Regions from separate parts of the Homo sapiens genome. Here all the other regions are linked to region 3. Evidence: promoter capture Hi-C in 16 types of primary human blood cells and fetal thymus (Javierre and others, 2016). All regions are on one chromosome and are shown on one strand. The core of a region is centred on a gene start or on the middle of the fragment in contact, and the rest is flanking DNA. Distances in the headings are between cores, read along the strand shown. Region 1 has its middle 5.6 kb from the start of SPRY2. Region 2 overlaps OBI1-AS1 (OBI1 antisense RNA 1). Region 3 holds the start of RBM26 (RNA binding motif protein 26). Region 4 overlaps OBI1 (ORC ubiquitin ligase 1).

Evidence for each region. Contacts are between HindIII fragments. The CHiCAGO score rates a contact against its expected background, and 5 or more counts as called.
Region 1: a fragment that was not itself captured here is called in contact with the fragment with the promoter of RBM26 in region 3 in 1 of 17 cell types (fetal thymus); the score reaches 5.4 in fetal thymus.
Region 2: a contact is called between a fragment that was not itself captured here and the fragment with the promoter of RBM26 in region 3, in 2 of 17 cell types (naive CD8 T cells and naive CD4 T cells). The highest score is 6.3, in naive CD8 T cells.
Region 4: a contact is called between a fragment that was not itself captured here and the fragment with the promoter of RBM26 in region 3, in 2 of 17 cell types (naive B cells and naive CD8 T cells). The highest score is 5.8, in naive B cells.

The regions. Positions count from the first base shown.
Region 1 is chr13:80,344,150-80,349,332 of GRCh38, reverse strand. No RefSeq gene overlaps it. Among named protein-coding and RNA genes, the nearest start is that of SPRY2, 5.6 kb to the right of the region's middle. The HindIII fragment of the contact is 4,354 bases long and covers 272-4,625 here.
Region 2 is chr13:78,587,798-78,593,008 of GRCh38, reverse strand. The region is part of intron 3 of OBI1-AS1 (OBI1 antisense RNA 1); the gene reads right to left. Among named protein-coding and RNA genes, the nearest start is that of POU4F1, 13 kb to the left of the region's middle. The HindIII fragment of the contact is 462 bases long and covers 3,037-3,498 here.
Region 3 is chr13:79,402,254-79,407,538 of GRCh38, reverse strand. RBM26 (RNA binding motif protein 26) reads left to right here and starts at 1,284. Exons shown (of 22, transcript NM_001366735.2): 1 at 1,284-1,835. The coding sequence starts at 1,765. It overlaps RBM26-AS1 (RBM26 antisense RNA 1), which reads right to left and starts at 1,230. Exons shown (of 7, transcript NR_038991.1): 1 at 1,062-1,230. RefSeq lists enhancers at 999-1,298, 628-1,619 and a silencer at 1,529-1,728. The HindIII fragment of the contact is 7,810 bases long and covers 1-5,285 here.
Region 4 is chr13:78,619,200-78,624,551 of GRCh38, reverse strand. All of the region lies in intron 5 of OBI1 (ORC ubiquitin ligase 1), which reads left to right. Among named protein-coding and RNA genes, the nearest start is that of POU4F1, 18 kb to the right of the region's middle. The HindIII fragment of the contact is 2,963 bases long and covers 1,026-3,988 here.

The sequences.
Region 1 (5,183 bases), core at 1,199-3,698, 940 kb before region 3:
GTGCTGGGATTACAGGCGTGAGCCACCGCGCCTGGCTCATTCATCCTATTGAAAACTAATGTTTGAGCTCCCTGTATGTATTAGGCCCTTCGGTTCTGGAAATACAATGGTGGGCAAAACCAGACTTGGATTCCAGCCCTCATGGACCTTAAAATACAGTGAAAGAGACAGTTATTAATGAAACAATCACAATTACATGTATAGTTGCACCGGAGAAGGTCATGAGAAAAAAAGGTGGGATTTCACCTAGTCAGAGAAGTCAGAAAAAGCTTTCCTGAGAATATGACAACAGAGATTTGAAAGATAAGTAGGCCATCGTGGGCAACATTGTGAGAACTGTCTCTACAAAAAAAAAAAAGTTAATTAGCCAGGCATGGCGGTGGTGCATGCCTGTGGTCTCAGCTATTCAGGAGTCTGAATTAGGAGGACTGCTTGAGCCCAGAAGTTCAAGGCTGCAGTGAGCCAGGATAGGACTACTGCATTCCGGCCTGGGTGACATAGCAAGACGCGTCTAAAAAAAAAGAAAGAAAGAGAATGAAAAGAGAAAGATAAATAAGAGTTAATAAAGCAAATAAGGTTAATAAGAAAAGTGCATCAGGGAATAGCATGTAATAAGGCCCTGTTGCAGGAGAGAGGTGCTTCTGAGCAACTAAAAAGTAGCCTTCATAACTGCAGGGTAGAAAGCAAGAGAGTGTGTAAAAACAGAAAGAAAAGAGAAGAGAAGAGAACTGGTGTAACAGGAGTCTGGTGAGGGAAAACAGCCAGACCAGAGTAGGACCTTGAAGTTGTTTGAAAGACTTGGATCTTTACCCAGAAAGTAATGTGAAGCCAGGGGAGAATCTAAGCAACAGGCAATTGTGATCAGATTCACCCAAAGTGGTCTAGATTGCATCCAAATCCAGCTCTCTTGAACTACCAAAGTCTCTGGAACCTATTATGATATCAAAAGTTCAATCTTGAGCATCTTTTTCTATTAGCAACTACAGTTTAAAAAAAGAAAATAATGATTTTGAAAATCTAATTTCTTTTTCTTTTTCTTTTTCTTTCTTTTTTTTTTTTTTTTGAGACAGAGTGTCTCTCTGTCGCCTAGGCTGGAGTACAGTGGCACGATCTCGGCTCAATGCAACCTCTGCCTCCTGCATTCAAGCAATTCTGCCTCAGCCTCCCAAGTGCCTGGGACTGCAGATGTGTACCACCACGCCTGGCTAATTTTTGCATTTTTAGTAGAGACGGGGTTTCACCATGTTGGCCAGGCTGGTCTTGAACTCCTGACCTCAGGTGATCCATCCTCCTCAGCCTCCCAAAGTGCTGGGATTACGGGCATGAAGCACTGTGCCCAGACTGAAGATCTAATTTTTAATTTTGCTCATATATTTATTTTAACACATGTTAGGATATAATGCAAGAAGGTCTCTGTGGTGTAAAATGAGGGTGAGAAGAATACTTACCAAAAGTGCAAGGGGATTTCTCACATACAACATGAACGGCAAACTGTCCACTAATTGACGGCTTCCTTGAGCTATTTTTAAAATGTGTTCTTGAAAGTTAACAGACTGCTAACTTCTTATTTGAAATTACAGTTTAACACTTAATTTTAATTATTAATATAGTCATATCTTTCAAAGTAAAAAGTTTACTTTTACCTACATTCTTTACCCACCCATCATCATCCTCTTTGTCATTTCTTTGTTATATAGTTTAAAACTAGATGTTCCCTACAGCTTTATTTCCAGTTACCTCACATTTCCATAAAGATTTATTTGTAATTTAATAAGTATTTAATATTTCACCTATTAAAAGTCATAGCCCTGGCCAGGCGCAGTGGCTCATGCCTGTAATCCCAGCACTTTGGGAGGCCAAGGTGGGTGGATCACTTGAGGTCAAGAGTTCAAGACCAGCCTGGCCAACATAGTGAAACCCACCTCTAGAAAAAATACAAAAATTAGCCGGACATGGTGACAGGCTAATAGGTAGCCTGTAGTCCCAGCTACTCAGGAGGCTGAGGCAAGAGAATCACTTGAACCCAGGAAGCAGAGGTTGCAGTGAGCTATGATTGTGCCACTGTAATCTAGCCTGGGCGACAAAGCAAGACTCTGTCTCAAAAAACAAAACAAAACCAAATAATCATAGCCTTAACAAACTTGTTTCAGTCACTTCCTAGTAATTATGCAAAACACAATGGTAATTTCTAGAACAGCAGAATGACTTAACTTCTGCCATTAAAGAATTCAAAAACTGTGAATTTCCTTTTACAAAATTAAGACTTTAAAATATTATCTTATTTTAATCATACTTTTTTTTTCTTTTTTTTTTTTTAGATGGAATTTCACTCTTGTTTCCCAGGCTGGAGTGCAATGGCACGATCTTGGCTTACCGCAACCTCCGCCTGCTGGGTTCTAGCGATTCTCCTGCCTCAGCCTCCTGAGTAGCTGGGATTACAGGCATGCGCCACCACGCCCAGCTAATTTTTGTATTTTTAGTACAGACGGGGTTTCACCATGTTGGTCAGGCTGGTCTCGAACTCCCGACCTTAGAGGATCCGCCCACCTTGGCCTCCCAAAGTGCTGGGATTACAGGTGTCAGCCACCACACCCGGCCTAATTATACTTCTTAATTTCATTCATTCATTGAAAAGCGTTTAGTGAGTGTCTAGTGTCTACAGAGATCGGAGTGAGTGCTTTCTTTTTTTAAGAATGAAATGCTGGGCTGGGCACAGCGGCTCACTCCTGTAAGCCACTGTAAGCTACTTTGGGAGGCTGACACAGAATGATCATTTGAGCCTAGGAATTCAGGACCAGCCTGGGCAACATAATAAGACCTCATTTCTACTAACAATTTAAAAAATTAGCCTGGCGTGGTGGCATGTTACTGTAGTCCCAGCTACTTGTGAGGCTGCGGTGGGAGGATCTCTTGAGCCAGGGAGGTCAAGGCTGCAGTGAGCCATGACCACACCACTGCACTTCCGCCTGGGTAACAGAGTGAGACCTGTCAAAGAAAAAAAAAAAAAAAAAAAAAAGAGAGAGAGAGAGCAAAAAAAAGAAAAGAAAAGAAAATGAATGAGAAGGTGAAGAATCTTCCTGTTTCAATTCCAGGTTCCAAAGAAGTCCAAGGCAGCCTTGATATATAGTCTCCAGATCCTTGGAGCAGTCTATCCTTTAAAGTTCCATCCAACACAATATGCACAAACAAAGCTGTTTCTACCTACCCCACAATATTCTCAAATGATTCTCTGTAACTTCAAAACACTTCCTGTCCAAAGGAACAAACAAACTAAATCTGCATGCAATCATAGTCCGTTTACCAAACTGAACAATTTTGGACTTGATCTGTTAGCGGAGGTTAATTCCGAGCTGGCCGGCAGCCCTGATATTGTGTGGCATCTGCACAGTAAGAATGGCTTAAGTGGAATCTGTTTAACTACATCTTTCTTAGAGAACAGGTTGAACTTCCTATGCCCTTTTGACCAAGTGTCCACATAATAGGAAGTATAAAAGCAAAACCCTCCAACTATTCCGGGGCTAAAATCTTCCAACTGCTACTAATCTTGGCCAGTAATATCCAAATACTAATTTCAATTAATGATTTTTGCTTATATGATCCAGAACATAGGGGATCAAATGTTAAAAACAAACAAAAACAAATAAACCCAGGGCTATTCAGGGAAATGCAGTGAAAGAATGCAATGTCCTCACTGATTAGGTTTTCTCTGCACATATCAGTCCTACAAAGAAGTTTAATCTTCAAACCAAAGGATAGATAAATTGAAAAAAATAATGAGAAAAATCGTGTTGGCCAGCAGAGAAATTCTGTTTCTGCCTTGTTATAGAACTTCAGTTCACATCAGACCTTGCATAAACTGTAGTCATAATGTGCATGCATCTCACAGGAGTATTCATTAATTAACCAGTAAAAATCACCAGGTGGATCCCAGTTGAATACAAGGCCTCCGGAAAAAACCAGACCCGCAGGAGCCTGGAGCTCAAGGTCGACTCTGCAACACCACCCCTCTTACCCTGAGAGAACCCCAGAGCTTTCCCCCAGTTTAGTTAGGGATAAAGAATATATCTCCAAAGAAGGTTAGATCCAGAGATAACTGTTTCCAGTCCTTCAAGCAATCTAGATAAGAACTCAAGTGGTCTATTTTGAATTCCTTTGCATCTTTTGTTACAGCCACTCCCAATTCCCTTCTAGAGGCATTATCAACAGAATTTGGGAAATTCAAAAGTGAAATGACTAGAGTCACAGTTGTCAAAACAAAAGGTCCATCATTACAAAACCCTTTGTCTCAGGAAGGTCCCTGAAGAGGCCATGCATAGACTAATTTTACTATTGCAACTGGGCTGTTAGGAGAGATAATGGTTGAAAGCCCCAAATTGTTAGTCGTGGAAGCAGCACACACTGTTACATTCTGTGCCATCTTCAAATAGATTGCCTTGGTAATAGAACTAACAAACTAACCAAATAGCTATTCATTCTTCTTTTTCTCAAGAATGTGTGATATCATTGCAAGATATCAGTACTAGGACTAAACCTATTAAGGCCAAGTGGTTTGTGCAATCCCGGAAAAACGAGCTACGGTTGCTAAAAGATGCACTCTCCCGTTACTACAACATAAATTCAAAGCTTACACCAGCCAGCAAGTGCAATCTTACAAATATCTCACTTCAACTCACTCAACACACCTACTAGCAAAGAAGCATGTCTATTGATGCCTTCAACCAAAGATTGGAAAAAACAAAATGCACATATTTTATGTACTGTCTCATTGAAAAAAGTTGAGATTATAGTTGTAAAATGAAGTAATTATAAATAAATGAATACAGAATATAAAATGAAGCCAGAGATGACAGATCCCAAGTGTGTGACCAGAGTCCTATTTAACGACAAGTACTAGGAAGGTATGTTACTTGGTGAGTATTAGAAACTTGGGGCCAAGCGTGGTGGCTCATGCCTGTAATCTCAGCACTTTGGGAGGCCAAGGTGGGTGGACCGCTTGAGGTCAGGAGTTCGAGACCAGCCTAGCCAACATGGTGAAACCCCATCTCTACTAAAAAAATTACAAAAAATCAGCCGGGCTTGGTGGCGGATACTTGTAATCCCCGCTACTTGGGAGACTGAGGTAGGAGAATCGCTTGAACCCGGGAGGCGGAGGCTGCAGTGAGCCAAGATCGCACCATTGCACT
Region 2 (5,211 bases), core at 2,018-4,517, 820 kb after region 3:
TTACTGATAATACTCAGGAGCTGGTGTATGTTTGTGAGCTTGAAGCTGTGCCTCCACGTGCATATCCATATACAAACAGATGTAAGCGCATTTTTTACTGTTGCTGTTGAATGTAACTGAGTCTTATTGCTAAACTTTATTCTGGTTCTGTCCCAGTGTTTCAGCACCAGAAGCAACTCCCTTAAAATTGAAGAGTGGTGCATTATTGAAACTCTCTATCAAACAGCTCTGGGGTTCAGCCTTTCTGAAAATGCTGGCTCTCGATGAGGTCTGACTGTCTGACTGCACATAAGCCCCTAATATGTTAATGGCCGTAGGGGATGCCTAAGGTACTATCTCAAGCTGCTTCGCACACCATATGTCAGGCCGTTAGCCACATGGATCTATTAATCAAAAAGAGCTGGAGAGGAAAGAGAGGGTCTTCAGAAGGGGGGAGAATGAGAGAGATGGGGGAGGAGGAGGGGAAAAGAAAAAGCATTTAAAACTCACATGTCTTCATTTTTTAAATAAAAAATGAATAAAAATATCTAAAGAAGGCTCCATCAATAAAATTTCTTTGCTGTCGAGTTAAAGACTGTTCATAAATGTCTACTAAGTAATTAGCATAGCATTTGGTTCTACTGAAATAGATGGATATTTTACCTGAAAGGTCTTATTTGGGTTTGCTTTATTGCAAAACTTCTATAGGCAAGACTCTGATGGCACAAAAGTTATTTTTGTTATGTACATTGTTTGGTAAATGTGCTTTATTAAAAGTAGTGGGAGGAGAATACGGAAATTGTATGTTTAGGGGATGTAAGAAGGTCATGGAGGGAGGTGCCTGGGGGATTTGTAATGAATATATAATTATTAATATATATTTGCATGGACAGTAGAGTTTTCACTTTTTTTAGTTCTTCTGAGAGTAAATGTAATGTGTTAAGATTTTTGTTTCTTCCTTTAGGCTGGCTTTTTGATAAATGAAACTGCAAAATATACAGGATAGAAAATAGTACTTAATTTTTTTAGAAGGAGAAGAAATGAGAAAACATTAAAAGTTCCATCTTTTTCATTTCTTTGTTGTTTAGTAATATCTCTTGCCTTTGAGTGTTTAAAATTGTTTTCAGTTAAATAACTAGTTTAGAAAGTTTGCACAATATTAGATGTAATTATATACTCAGCATGGAGAGGGCATGAATGAGTAAGTATACTAAGTGTGTAAGAAAAATATTTGAATTCTTTCTTGAAATAATGACCATATTTGTCATGTGTCTTAAACTAATTCTTTTTAGAGAAATCAAGTGGAAGTACAGATTTTAAAATATCAGACCTATATCAGAAACAGAGCAATGAAAGGAAAACATATAGGTTCTTGGATTTAAAAGTTACATTCTTTTCATGTGCAATGCTACCTGAGGATAGAGAAAATATAAAATAAAAAGTCAATTCAAGCATATTTACTTATTGTTATAATTGGCAGTAAGTGATGATGGGCCACAAGAATACTTTTTAAGTTTAAAAATCTATAATTATTGATAGCATTTAAGAAAGAATACCCTTGAAAATGACTTTTTAATATTGTCATAATTAGTAGGCTTACACTGCAGTAGTTAATTTGTAAGATAATAGAATTATTGAAAAGTTTATTGACCTTAGATTTAAAAAATACATATGTAAATGTTGACTACTTATATATATTGAGAACACAGATTATTCACTCACCCCATACGCCCTGTGTCATTAACAAAGACTGATAGTGCTCTATTGTATTGGATATGTAAAAGAGACAGGCAGCAGAATGTTTTTATGATTCAAAAATACATTAAAGAAGATAATTGTGTTAGAAAGTGCAAGATTACTTGAAAAAAGATAACTGTGAAATTGTACTCAATAAGAAACAAAAATTATATAGTGCGATCTATTACAATATTTACAGTATAAAAGTGGAGTACTTTGTACTATGTATTAGATGGGAGGTATTAAATATTCTTTATTTTCACAAGGGAACCTGTCTGTCTTTATATAGAAGTAAGTGCTCAGTTACAGGGACAGGTTAATATTGAGAGGTGTTTTTAATTAAAAACACCACTGCTTTTGGCTAGTAAATTATCTGTGACTCTTTTAGTAAAAAAAAAAAAAAAAAAAAAAGATTTTAAAAATAGAAAATTGTGTTGTAGAGAACTGTAGTCAATCTGTAAATATGACAGATTCTAAAAGTCAATCTGTAAATATGACAGATTCTAAAGCACTATATTTCATCCAGGAGATGATGAATACATGAAGAAAGAATCATCCTGAATTTCAACAGTAGCAGGTAGGGAGAAACACTTATTATCTTTAAATTTTGGTGCATGCCATTAGCCTTCATTTCTTTCCCTGTAGTTAAAAGGTAGCCCATATATCTGTCGCTTTGGGTTTCCAAAGACTCATAACTTAATTCCTTCAGGCTATTCATCAGCACAGTAATTAAACTAGCAAATGGATGTAAATAAAGTGAAATTGGTTTCATGACAGATGAGGCGAAGAGGCCTCTGACATGAAACAAGGCAGGACAATAATGATTTCAGCAGCATCAGGCCATGGAAGGAACCCCAGCTGGATTTATTAGGTGCTGCAAGTGATTTGCTAGAAGCGGGCAAGACATGAGCACTCTTTAATTTGACAGGAATTTTGCATCCTAAAGAGCATATTGAAATATAAATTCAGAAACAAGTTCAGGCAAACTGTAAACAGATGTATTGTTAGACTGAAGATACTACTCAGTATTTTAAAAGGAAGAAGAAAAGAGAACGACATCCCCCTCCCTAATAGAAGAGCTTCATTTTCACAATTTATTATTTAATTGTGGGTAGTGGCAAAATAATTATGAAACATTTCGTTCTACTTAGTGAATTCTGTTACTATTAGATGGTTAGTAATTTTGGATGTCCAGGTTTATTTATCAGGAGAGCAACCAAAGCAATAGATGATTTAGAACCCAGCACAAGTAAAACATTTGTACAAATTAGCAGTACATGCATACATGGGAGAGATATATGGCAAACTGGGAGAGAAGCTTGGATGGACAACTTATTTTACAGAGTGGGATTATTATTGTATTTAAATAAAATCTAGGATAAAAATCTGGCACCACTTTATTGCCTCTAGCGGTTTGTGCCTGGATACCCAAAGAACAAATTTCTATCTGCAAAGAGAAATTGTTTCAAGCCCTTGATCAGATGAATTCTTAAAATGAAATATAGATTTGTCCCTGCAAAATAAGCAGTTCCATGAACTAGAGGGAACCAAACTATAACTGAAAAATCACAGAATAAGAGAAGAAGGTGTAAGGAATGGATTCTTGGCTGGCTCCACAAGAGTCAAATGAAAATTGAGTCACTATTCCACTACAATAAGGAAGTTACACATAGAATAAATAAAAGGCAGATTTTCACACTAGGAGCAGATCAGTCCCTTTCTCCATGAAAAGATGAGAAATGAACTGCTTTATGTTTAAATGTAGTCTCAATTATTTAAGCTTCCTTTCATGAAGAGCAAAGATAAGTAACTCCTCCAAATCCTCCATTAGTGGTGCCCTCCCTTTTCACAAGAGTCACGCAAGGTTTTCAGCACCGCGGCCAGCTCCAGGGAGGGTCAAGGGGAGAGCGGGCGGGAGAGCAGCTATTGACCCAGGAGAGGTGAAACCTAAATACTCCTAAAAATCTACCGGCGATTTAATTATTTAGCAGTGGATTCTGATCTTCTGTGGGATACTAAATAAAGCCTAAGTCCTCAAATATTTTAGAAAGTGATGTTTCATAGGAAAGTGAGGAAGAGGCATGGGGGCATGGTGGGGGCTGGGGTAGAGAAAGAGCAGGTTATCAAAATTCTTAATGAAAATAAAACCTGAAAAAGGGAGAGAGAAAGAAAAACACCCACTGAATGCTACCTCCCTTCTAATGGTGGGTGACTTTCAGGCCAAGAAGGAATTTATTATGAAACTCAACTGGTTTTCTCCTTGAGCCTGCTCTTTAAAAAAAAAAAAAAAAAAAAAAAAAAACAGGAAAATATGCCTAATTATTTTAAAGTTCCTTTCCAATCGCAAGGCATAGCTAAGTCCTTTAATTATAATACAGTATGAATAGGGGGAGCATATGGAGGAGAATGTCAAGAAGAGGGTGCCAGGGGCAGATCCTCAGAAATCTGTATTCATTTCTGGCTCTTATTTGTTCAGTAATCTCTACCATCATAACTAAATCTTGAACCACTGATGTAGTTCGAGTTGTTGTTGACTTAACGTCAAAATTCAATCACTGGGGGTTTTGCATCAGCCGGGCTACTTATTTGTCTAATAAATCCGTCATTTTGTAAGAAAAATATTTGAGCAGCCGTACTTGACCTCTTGGTATCCACAAGTCACATTTATTTCTCCCAGTTTACAAATGCAAAATCGAGATGAACGTCTAATGCCTGGAGGAACTGTGTTGATTTCAGATTGGATTTTAGATGGAAATGTCTATTTTAAATACCTTGTGATTAAATTGTACATATAATAGGATCCATGCATTTTTAACTGGTTCCTGCTTGGAAACTTAACAACCTGGACTGCAAATCACACATACCAATGCCAAAAGGAAAACACACACACACACACACACACACACACACACACAACCGAACCCACCCACTTTTCTCAGACAAATACTAAAATTTAGCCTCAAATGCAAGACTTTATTAAAACAAGAGTTTTTTTTAAAAAAAATAATTCTTCTATTAATGGATTCTCCAACCTTGCCCCGAAAATATTCTAATTCCTGGAGGGTAAGGCTTCAGCCCAATCCCAGGAACAGCACACACAGAATTCATGCAGTCTTGAGTCTACAACCAAACTGTAACTCAAGTCTAATGAAATCCATATCACCATCTCTGAGTATTATTAGTTAAGGAAAAAAATGTGTTATATTTTATTGAATTAATTTTATTCTCCAGTCTAGAAGCCTGTTTGGATATTGCTTGAAAATATTCTATTGCTTCTCTCCTACTCCTTCTCCTTCAAGAATCTTTTTAGTGCAAAAATCTCTCCACAGCTCAAGAATCTTTCTCAAATCTTTGGCGAAAGACAAAACAGTCTATTCGAGTCCATTGTAGAGTTGGGGAAAGTGAGACACTACCCATATATTATGGCAAAAGTACTTGGATAAAAAGAGACGTCTTCAGAAGGCAGACTAGAAAACTGCTTTTGCCAGTTGGCGA
Region 3 (5,285 bases), core at 35-2,534:
CACACAACACCACTCATCTCCAGAATCTAAATCATCCTAAACTGAAACTCTATTATCCACTGAAATATAACTCCTCATTTCCCCTTCTCCTGGGCACCCTCTCCACCCCTGCTCTTGCTACCATTCCACCTTCTGTCTCTAGGAGTTTTGACTACTCTAGGTACTTAATGTAAGTGGAATCATAATATTTGTCCTTTCATGTCTGGTTTATTTCACTCAGCTAAATCACTTTAATCAACACCCTGGTTATTCAGTAGCTGGATTCTAATTTGTATTCTACTCTATATGCTGTATTTTAAAACAAATGTCTTGCTTTGTAGTTCATAATCTTTCCACCTAATCCTTAAAGACACTTCACTCTAGCAAATTATAAACTCAAGAGTTCCTAAGAACAATTTAGCCTATCGGTGTCTCTCATAAAGAGCTTTTATTGATCTACTTACTGAAAATGTCTTTAGATTGTGAATATTTTCATTCCATTACAGTTCATGGAACGTAGACCCTTTGTAAAATTCCACCTAGTATCTAAATAGAACTCAAGCAGGAATCAAACTTATTTGATCACCCAGGAAAATAGTTTATTTATTTGGGTTGCTAATATGAAGACTCTCTCTTTTGATACTATATAATTTCCCGATCTGAGATAGGGCTGAATTTGCTCTAAATAAAGAGAATTTTAAAAATAACAAAACTTATCTTTAGCTGGGGGAAAGTGCAGGCTGGAAACTACCTGAGAGACGTGAAGGTTCTCTCACCTTTCCCTTGTGGGCAGCCCTCAGTCATTAGGGCTCTACCAGCAAGTCAAGTACTGTTGGACAAGACACTAATCCTCTGGCGGTCTCATTGGGCTCCATTAGACCAGCCTGTGTTTACAAACCTCGTTCACATCACAGCATACACAGAATATGATACTGGTAGGGCACTTAGGTAAACTGAGGAGGTAGTGTGCTCGGCACCTGGAACCTACGGGCCGCCTGGTGTCGCGCACGCGGGAGTGTACGCTCTCAAAGAGCGATCCATCCGGCAGGACCGTTCCAGCTGACAGGCCACGGCCGTCTTACCGGGGACGAGCTGGGGTTCCCGCTGTTTCTGAAGTCAGCGGTCTTTTCCTCCTTGTAAGAAATAAGGTCTTTATATCATAAAGGTAAGCAAAGAATAAAAAGGCACAAAGGCCGCAAGCAACGCACACACGCAAAAATCGAACTACAGCACTCGACCCGCGCATTCTCCGCCGACCTTACGTCTCTCCCAGCAGGCTCCGGGAGCCACCGCGAGACTTCATCAATTCTCGCGAGATTTACCGGCAGCCATCTTCTTGGGGGTGCTGGGAGCCGGGAAGACCCCCTGAATCGTTCCCATTGAGCTGCCCTTCGCCTTCGCTTTCTTTACTTTTGCCTTTTCGACGTAGCCAACAAGCACCTGGTCCCGAGGCTGAGAGAAGGCTCGGGTCTAAGCGCGTGTCGCGCTTCCGGTCTGGGTAGATTTGCTGGGGAAGAGGGAAGGGGGAGGGCCCGGGCAAACCGTTGCTGTTTCAGCCCGGGCTGGGGGCCGGGGACGGGGAGCTCCTGGCACCCCGTGCACTTGTGGCCTGCGGCGGTCCTTGCAGAGCTGTTCGCCGACCGGGGCCCGCGGGAACCTGCCACCGGCGCCTCCCACCGCGGCCCACGCGGGCGGCGCGCGGAGGAGGGGGCGGGGGCAGCGGCGGCTGTAGCGGCCGCGACCTGGGCGGGCGGAGGAGTGTGACGGGCCTTAGGGCCGCTGTGGATGGTTTCTAAAATGATCATTGAAAACTTCGAGGCACTCAAGTCCTGGCTCAGCAAGACTCTCGAGCCCATGTGAGTATCCGGGGGATATCTCTTTGCAGGGATGGCAGTGGGAGATAGGCGGACCCAGAGATCTGTGCAGTTTCCCCAAGTGCCTGCGGTGGAGGCCGAAGCGGTGAACGGAGGTCCCAGGGTTCTGTGGCTTCTCCTCCTCGTCCACCTCGCTTCCAGATTCAGGATACCCCCGAGAGCCTGAGTCGAGCTTTATTTTATTGCTGAGCTGCTCTCGTTTTCCCGTTATATATAGACCGTCTCCAACCCCCACCCGCAATATTTTCCGGGGGCCTCAAAATCGGTTTATTTTAGTGAAACCGACTGTATTTTACTTCCTACAGATTATTTTACCTTGTTTTTCTAAATGAAGTAGACGGCCTTTATTGGGGATTCGGGCAGTTCTAGCTTAAATCACTCACGTTTCACCTAAATATAATTCCTGAAAGCAAGGCCACGTCTCCCATGTGCTGTCTGGCTCATCTGCACCTCTCTTCACTGATTGAAGATGTAACAGGTGCTGAGGTGGCCAGTAAAATTCCCCTTTCCCGCCTACGCGTTCGTTAGCTTGGAGAGGAGGAAGAAAATTGAATCTTCATCCATATGGAATATTTAGCAGTTTTAAGTGGGATGCTATAGATAGATTTTGTGTTGGGGGCTGCGGTTAGAGTGCTGAAATAGTCTTAGATTGGAAAATTTAAGGAGTGTTTTGACGACTTGTTAATACAAAATATGACATGGACCAAAGTGCTTAATCAGAATTGGTTGATTTACAATAATGCAATGGGGAAAATTCACGTATTTAATAAAGTTATTAGGTACCTACTGTATACTACGGGAGGCTTTGGGGATAGAGCTTTTAAATTCTAAAATCGACAAGACATAAATAAATCCAGATATTAATAGAGTTGTGACTATTGTAATAATAGAGAATCATGTAAAAGTGATTATGAGGGGGGCTATTTCACATTGGTCAAGGAAGGACTCTCAGAGAAGGTGACATTGGAGTAACATCTAAAGAGAAGGGACCATGTGTGTCAAAGTCTTGGAAAAGAACATTCCTTGCAAAAGGAAGAGCAAATGAAAGGCCCTGTAGCAGAAGTGATTGTGGTGTGTTTCAGGAAGAGAAAGGCCACTGTGGCTGGAAAGAGCCTTGTGATGAGGGAGAGGATATAAAGGCAACAAGTTGGACAAGTAGGTAGGGGCCACATCATGTATGGGAAGACGTGAGATGATTTAAAGCAGACAAGGACTGATTTAATTTTGTTTTAACTCTGCCTATTTTGTAGAGACTGAAAGGGCAAGAATGGAAGTAAGAAGATTATTCAGAAGTGTGTTGTAGGCAGAGATGTGGCTAGTTTGCATTAGAGTGATGGTGGAGACAGGCAGATCCAAATACATTTCATAAGTAAAATTAATGGATTAAATGCGGGAGATGAGGGAAAGGGAAATCAAGGGTGGTGCCTTAGATAACCCAAGCAACAGAATGGGTGATATTAGAGAAGGCAGAGAACAGGTTAAGGGGAGAAGGAAAGTGGATGGCTAGTTTTGATAATAATAAATACAGTAAGTATGAAGTCTGTGGGATACAGCTAAGTGTGATAGCAGATCATTGAATATATGAGTCTAAAACTCAGGACAGGACTGGAGAAATCTGGAGTCATGCAGATAGTATTTAAGACGATGACATTGTGGGAAATTTCATAGAAAAAGTGTGTAGGTAGGGAAGAGAAGAGGGCCTAGTACTGAGGCAGGAGGAAAACTGGGCTTTATGTCATTAAAAAACAAGTGTATGGCAAAAGAGAGGAGTTTATGAAATGCTGCAGAATGCATGAAAAAATGGAGGCAAATAGGTAGCCCTTAGATTTAGCAAAGTGGAAGTCATTGGTAACCTTAGCAAAATAGTTTCACTGGAGTAGAGTTGTGCAGATGGAAGTCCTATTTCGGTGTATTGGAGAGTGGGCATCATAGTATAGCGGTGAGGAGAACTCTGGAGCAGAATGTCTGGCTTTGAATTCTGCCTCTGCCACTTACCAGCTGTATGATATTGGGTAAGTTACTTAACTCAGGGCTTCCATTTCCTCAACTGTAAAATTGGGAAAATAATGGGTGTATATTAAGGAAATCTTAGACTACTGTCTGGTGTGTAATTAGCATTCAGTAGTTATTAGGTGAATACAAAACTTATAAATGTTTTGGATTGAAATAGCTTTCCTTTAAGCGTTCAGTTTCATATTAGATTTACTGCCGTATCCCTCCATCTTACCTAAATGAGAAGACTGTAGCTACTTAGAGTGTATGCTTGTAATTTTTCTTTAGTCTTAATGAAACATATTCCATGTATCATAAAGCCTACTCTCGATGGCTGTAGCACTGCAGTCATTATGTTGTAATAAATAAGGCTCTGCTAGTAGAGCCTAGACACTGGGAATTGTAATTGGTCCTTTTCTAATGTGTGTAGCTGTGGTAAAATTGAGCCCTTATTCAAGTTCTTGTCCTTTTAATTGCATTTCAGGTGGATTCTTTTGTATGATGACTTATAAAAGCTGATCCCAATTATGGATCAGTGGTTTCTAACGTTGGTTTTGTGAAATGTTATGATCTGTTATCTAAAAGGAATTTTTTTTTTTTTTTGCTTTAACATTGTAATTACCAAACGACCTCTGTTTGAGAGAGGAACATACAGAGGACCAAGGGTAAGCTGTAACTTGAAACTTACATAAAACTTTTTAGTTACCTGTGGTGGTTAAATACTTCATGGTTTTGGACTTACTCCACATTTTGAATGTGTTAATTCAGCAAACATTTATTTTAAGAGTACTTAACCTACTCTGTGCTAAGCAGTGTGCAAGATATAGTAGGTAACAAGACATGAAATGACTCACTTCATTTTATTTACCATTTAGCAGGAAAGATAGGTGTTGAAGTCTGGGAACATCAGGAAACACTTCCCTGGTGTAATGTTTATCTCAGCTTGGAAGGATGAAGAATACTTTGCTGGGGCAAAAGGATGGGATTGGAGACCTGTGAAAGCGTTATAGGTTTGGTGAACAGATTGTATGGAGGTCCTAAAAATGGACAAAAAAGATATGTTGGAGGAATTGAAAGAAATAGAAAAAAGCAAAGGAGAAGAATGGCAGTGGAAAGCTCCAGAGATAGGAGCCAGATCACACAGGACTTTGTTGAGTCATGTTTAAGACTTTGGATGTTATTGAAGGATAGTGGGAAGCCAGTGAAGGGTTTTAGGGCAAGAGGGTTTTCAGATGGATGTTTAAAAAAAAAAAAAAAAGCCTGGCTGTGTTTTCAGCGTGAAATAGAAGTCTGCATATCTGTATTTACTGTTTCATAACTTCTGTACATGTATCAGGGTTCTGAGTTTCATAAATTATTGAAAATAATTTTCAATGTCTTTTTCATAAATTGAGAATTTTGAACTTTATTAAAATTGTCATCTTGAAATGCTTAAGATTG
Region 4 (5,352 bases), core at 1,258-3,757, 780 kb after region 3:
GTTCTGCAGTGAGCCGTGATCATGCCACTGTACTCCAGTCCTCCAGTCTGGGTGACAGGATGAGATCCTGTCTCAAAAATAAATGAATAATATAGTGTTAATAATATAAGCTATTAATTATTAACCCTGCTCTTCATTTGAAAACTTGAAAAGCAAACTCTACTTTGATTTTTAAATGGTACTTTTAGAAGATGGAGGGATAAGGAATTACTGCAAGGGCATAATTCTTTGTCTTGTTCCCCTGTCTTTATCAACTTTGTCTTTAAGGGTGAAATTCTGGCATTTTTTATTCTTGCAAATATTGGAACACTTTCTGTTTTGTGATAAAACTAAGATGCAACATAACGTAGCTTGTATTTTTTTATTTCTCTTAATTATACCCTGAGAAATAACCCATGTGATGTTTAGGCCTTAAAATTTTGCATTTAGTTTTTCTCATTTCATATAAAAAACATCTTTTACTTGTAGTTGAAGATACCTGCTGATTGTGCATGAACCAGGCAAGTTTATCATACATACTTTCTATACATAGCACATTTAAGTATTATGCTTTCAGCTCTGTTTCAAACTTAGTCTTTATATCTCTGGTTAAATATTTGGGTTGGCATTTACCAGGGTGGTCTGTCAATGCTGTACTTTCATGCAAGGCCACTTTAATAAATGATCTTTTAAAATTTCAAAATATTACTGGATTTATGCCTAAAATATGGTGGTGGTTTGATAAATGTTTACTGAATTTGTGCATACATACTATATGTCTTCCTACAATTTTTGTATTTCCTCTGTGTTTCTATTAGCCAATGTATGTACCAATAAATAGCACAAGAATCCTAGTTCATTGACTCTGTATACACATTTTGCCTAGAAAAATCTAGTCTACATTTTGATATGAAATATAAATAGGTACTGATATTATTTAAGAAGGGCCTTATGTTCAAGTATTTAATACGATTTCAAACATGGTGTATGGGTTCAGAAGGACTTGGATTCAAATCCTATTCCTGCTGCTAAGCCCCTTTTAAGCTTCTCATTTCTCATTTTTAAAATAAGAATAATGAATCTTGCTTCATAAAGTTGATATGAGGATTAAATGAGATAATATATATCAAGCATATAGCACTGTGCTTGATGCCAAGTAAACAATGAATTGTGGCAGCTGCTTTTCTTTTTGTCATCATCATTGTCAATAGTAGTCAGTTATGCAGTGTTAAAGATGTATTTGTTACACTTACTTTCGGTAAATTCCAGCCAAAAGTTCACTTTCCTTTTTTTTTTTTTTTTAAATGTTCTCTTTCAGTATATCTCATTTAACATTTTTGTGGAACCAACGCGTGTGACTAGGATTGACCATAGATAGTACTTTTATGATTAACAAATTTCTAGGAATGTAGCAATTTTGTAACTGACAGCTTAATTTTAAAAAGAGAAAACTCTCTTGAGGAAACATTGGCAAATTATATAGCTCAGCAACAGTATAAATGTATGGGTTGCTTCCCAAAACTTCCCTAGTAGTTTAAAGACAGAATGTTTCCTCTCTACCCTCCCAACACATATACAAGGATGGGTAATGCACAAATGATCCATAGGAAGCAGGTGAGAGAAAAGAGATGCCAGAGGCTTTGAACCTTCTCCCCCACCACCTAACACAGTTTTGGGTTTCCTACAGCTCTGGTCCTCCCTGTCCGCTTTTCCTAAATTGTGCCCCACCCACCCTGCACACATGTACACAAGATAGATACCAGTACCAGGACCTTTTCATTTTTCTTCTCACTTCTGTCAAAACTCGGATTTCTATAGAGCTCCTGTTAAGGCTACTCACTTATTAAGTGTAATCAAAAAGAGGAGTTAGGAAACTCAGAGAATCTGAAACTGGTAGATTGTGTGTTGGGAGATATAATTAAGAAAGGAAAGGGCAAATGGAAAGCTCTTCTCTCTGAAACCTTAGCTCCCTGTGTTTAAAATAGAAAAGATACTTTCCTAATATTTCTGAAATTTAGGAAATGAGAAGCTACTATGGCTATGTAGACAGGCAAGTCCACAATAAAATCCATTCTATGAATGGATCATTCTTTCTCAGATTAAGTGGCAGTTCTTTAAAGAAAAATATTTGAGACACATAAATTTATTTGGTTTTGTCCCATATCAACCATTACTTTATGAAGCCCACTTGCAGCCTTGATTTCCCAGGCTCAAGCGATCCTCCAGCTTCAGCCTCCTGAGTAGTTGGGACTACAGGCGCATGCTTCTGTGCCTGATATATATTTTTTTTTTTGGAGAGACATGATCTCATTATGTCGCCTAGGCTGGTCTTGAACTGCTGAGCTGAAGCCATCCTCCTGCCTCACCTCCCAAAGCATTGGAATTACAGGCATGAGCCATGGACCAAAGCAGTCTTAGTAATTAATGGGAAAAATCACAATTGTTTGATGACCTTTAGCAACTTTGTCAAAACATTTAACTCTTATTATCAATTACATATGTATATGGATAGGCAAGAACAGTAAAAGTAATATTTAGTACATTGATATTTATGTAGTACAATTTGAAACATGAGAAATATTGAGAATTCGTGGTTTTTTTGTGAAAAACTTCTGGAGAATAATTTGAATAGTGCTTCCCTTCTCATATAATTTATGATATGAAGCTAGCATCATTTCTGATACCTTGATGAATTTTCACACTCCTAAGTTTGCATCAACTTCCAGCATTTTATCGTTTGCTCTCAATATCGTGAAAGAGCTCCACATTGCTTTAGTGCGAAGTGTTTTGTCAGCCTGTCATTTTCTCTAGACATCTTCATCCTTTTCACCACCACTTTTCTCATCCATGTCAATAAGTTTGCCTCTACAAAGTGCTTCTGGCATATCTAGAATTTCTTGAATGGACTGACATTGTTGTAATATTCCCACAGTCAGTGATTTCTTCCATAACTACATTTACATTTGATTTCAATTTCACTTCCAATGTTATCATTGTTTATTTCTTTGTTACACCTTCATCTTTGTTGACCAGTTCTGTCGTTTTATTAACTGTTTTTGTGAAATGTCATGCGGGTTTTTTACTGGGAGACAAGGAGCAGCCCAGCTGCACACTTTGCTGTCTGTATGTTAACTGAAAAACAGGTAAATGCACAGTGACTAATCACTGACTGACCTTGAAAGAAGTGACTTGATGGGTCACTGATCATGAAGCACGTCTATTATTTATGTAGTGTTTTTTGAACTGAAAAGCTAGAAGTGAAGGTTTTACTTCATGCAGTTACTCATTAATAATGGTGTGGTAACTGAAATTTGAACCATATTGTTGGGTGACTTGTAAATTAAACCATGGTAACTGAAATTTGTGCATATTGGAACCATATAAAGCAAGGATATCAACACTGAAAACCTGTCAGATAGGCCACACCACAAAAGCTGGTCCAGGTCCAAAGATAGCTTTCGCTTTGTTTCATTACCTCAGCTACCAAGTGAGGGAAACATATAAAGTCAAAGTTTGATGAGGCAAGTGGACTGACTTCCCCAATGTCCCCCTTGTTCCTCCTCAAGAAGGCATTTCTGAATTTTGGCAGTCTTGGCCACCCACTGGGCTTGCTGCATTTACCCATTTTGTTGGAATTGCCATTGAGAACCAGAAAGGCAAAGTGAATTGCTCAAGGATAGTAGCGTAGCACTAGAGCTTATTAGTTTTTTGGTACTCAGGTGTGGTATTCTTTTACCACATTTGTTTTCTTCAAACACGTCCTGTTTTTCTGTGTGATAGACTATGAGAAAATATGGTCTTAGGAACTTTTTGTTGTTAGAGATGCTCTTTAGTTTAGTTATACCACCTCAAAGGTCATACCAATAGGACTTCCATTTCTCTTTTACTAGGGACAGAAATGATCTTGTATCTCTTAGAGCTATTTGGACAAGGGGAACTGGCATCCTTTTCTCTCTCATCCAGAATGTATGTATCAGTTAATATTGCAAGCTGAAAAATCCTTTAAGCTTCTGTTAGATTCTGGCAGAATACAGTTCCGATATCAATTGTAGCTCCCAAACTGCTCTGCAGTGTTTTTTCTGGCACAATGAAGCCTTTGGCCATCACTGCTACTTTGAAAATCAAAGCCTTTTGGTCTCTAATGGAATGTTTATAAAAATACTCCATTTTGAAATTTACTCAAGAAAAGGAGGAAGTATGGTAAATGATATTAGAAATCCCTCCGGCTTGCCTTGGCATAGCTTCATTTAGTGTTGTATACTCCAAATATCTAGAATTAGTGTGAATACAAAAGTATTAAAACCCAAAGATAAATAAGCTCATGTCCTTCTTCTATGGAAGTATAGCATCAGATACTTATCCCTAATTGTTATTTCTCTATAATAAGGTAAATTGCCCTTTGCCAAATTTAATATAGTTATCTTGGATAAGCTGAAAATTTCCTGACACATGTCAAAAGTCTCATCTATTTGCAGTCTTACTAAGGTGAAGTTTTTTGGGGTGGAGCAGTATAGAATGTCAAGCCTGTAGCAAAAAAGGCTGTACTGTACATATGTCAGTCTCTGTTGCTTTCCTGGGTGTCAGTGAAATAAAGTAAACAGTCAAATGTAGTAAACAAAACATGTTTACTTTAGTAATACAGTGACTGTCATAATACTTAACATGTAAAAAGAAGGCCAAGGACCTTTAGCTTATCCTGTGGTGTCAACCCTGTCTCAATGTAAGGCACTAGTGTATCTTAAAGTAAGAGAATGACTTTTATTCAAGAAATACACAACAGGCAAGTGCCGTATACCAGGAATTGTTCTAGGAATCTGGCAGTGAATATAAGACAAACTACCTGCTCTCCTTGAGCTTCTATTCTAACGTGGGAGAAAGAAAGCAAATAAATTACATGAATTGATTAATTGATCAGTTGCATGGCTTTTAGTATACATTTCTGTCAGTCTGCCAACCAGCACAGGTCCCTTATTAGCATGGGAGAAGGGCCTGATCACTGAAAGTATTATAGATTTATAGAGTATTGAAAGGAAACTTAAGGAAATTGGGGGCAGTGGCCTTTTAGAAAACAGCCTAACTCCATCAGTGACTTCTGCTTGCTTGTGCCTCTCATATGTGATCTGCTACTGGCCTTTGTTACTTCTCTCTGAAATAACACAAAAATTATGTTTAGGGCTCTCATTGACTTCAACTCCAAACCATATGTTACTTCTTTTAAAAACATAATTTCTAAAAAAAAAAAATATATAGAGAGAGAGAGGCAAATACAGTATCTTAAGATGATACTATATTTGAAATTCCAAGCTAAAACCCTGGAACAAGAAGCTGGTAATATTTTGGGAAGCATTCTTTATTTTTGAGTAGTCTTTCTGT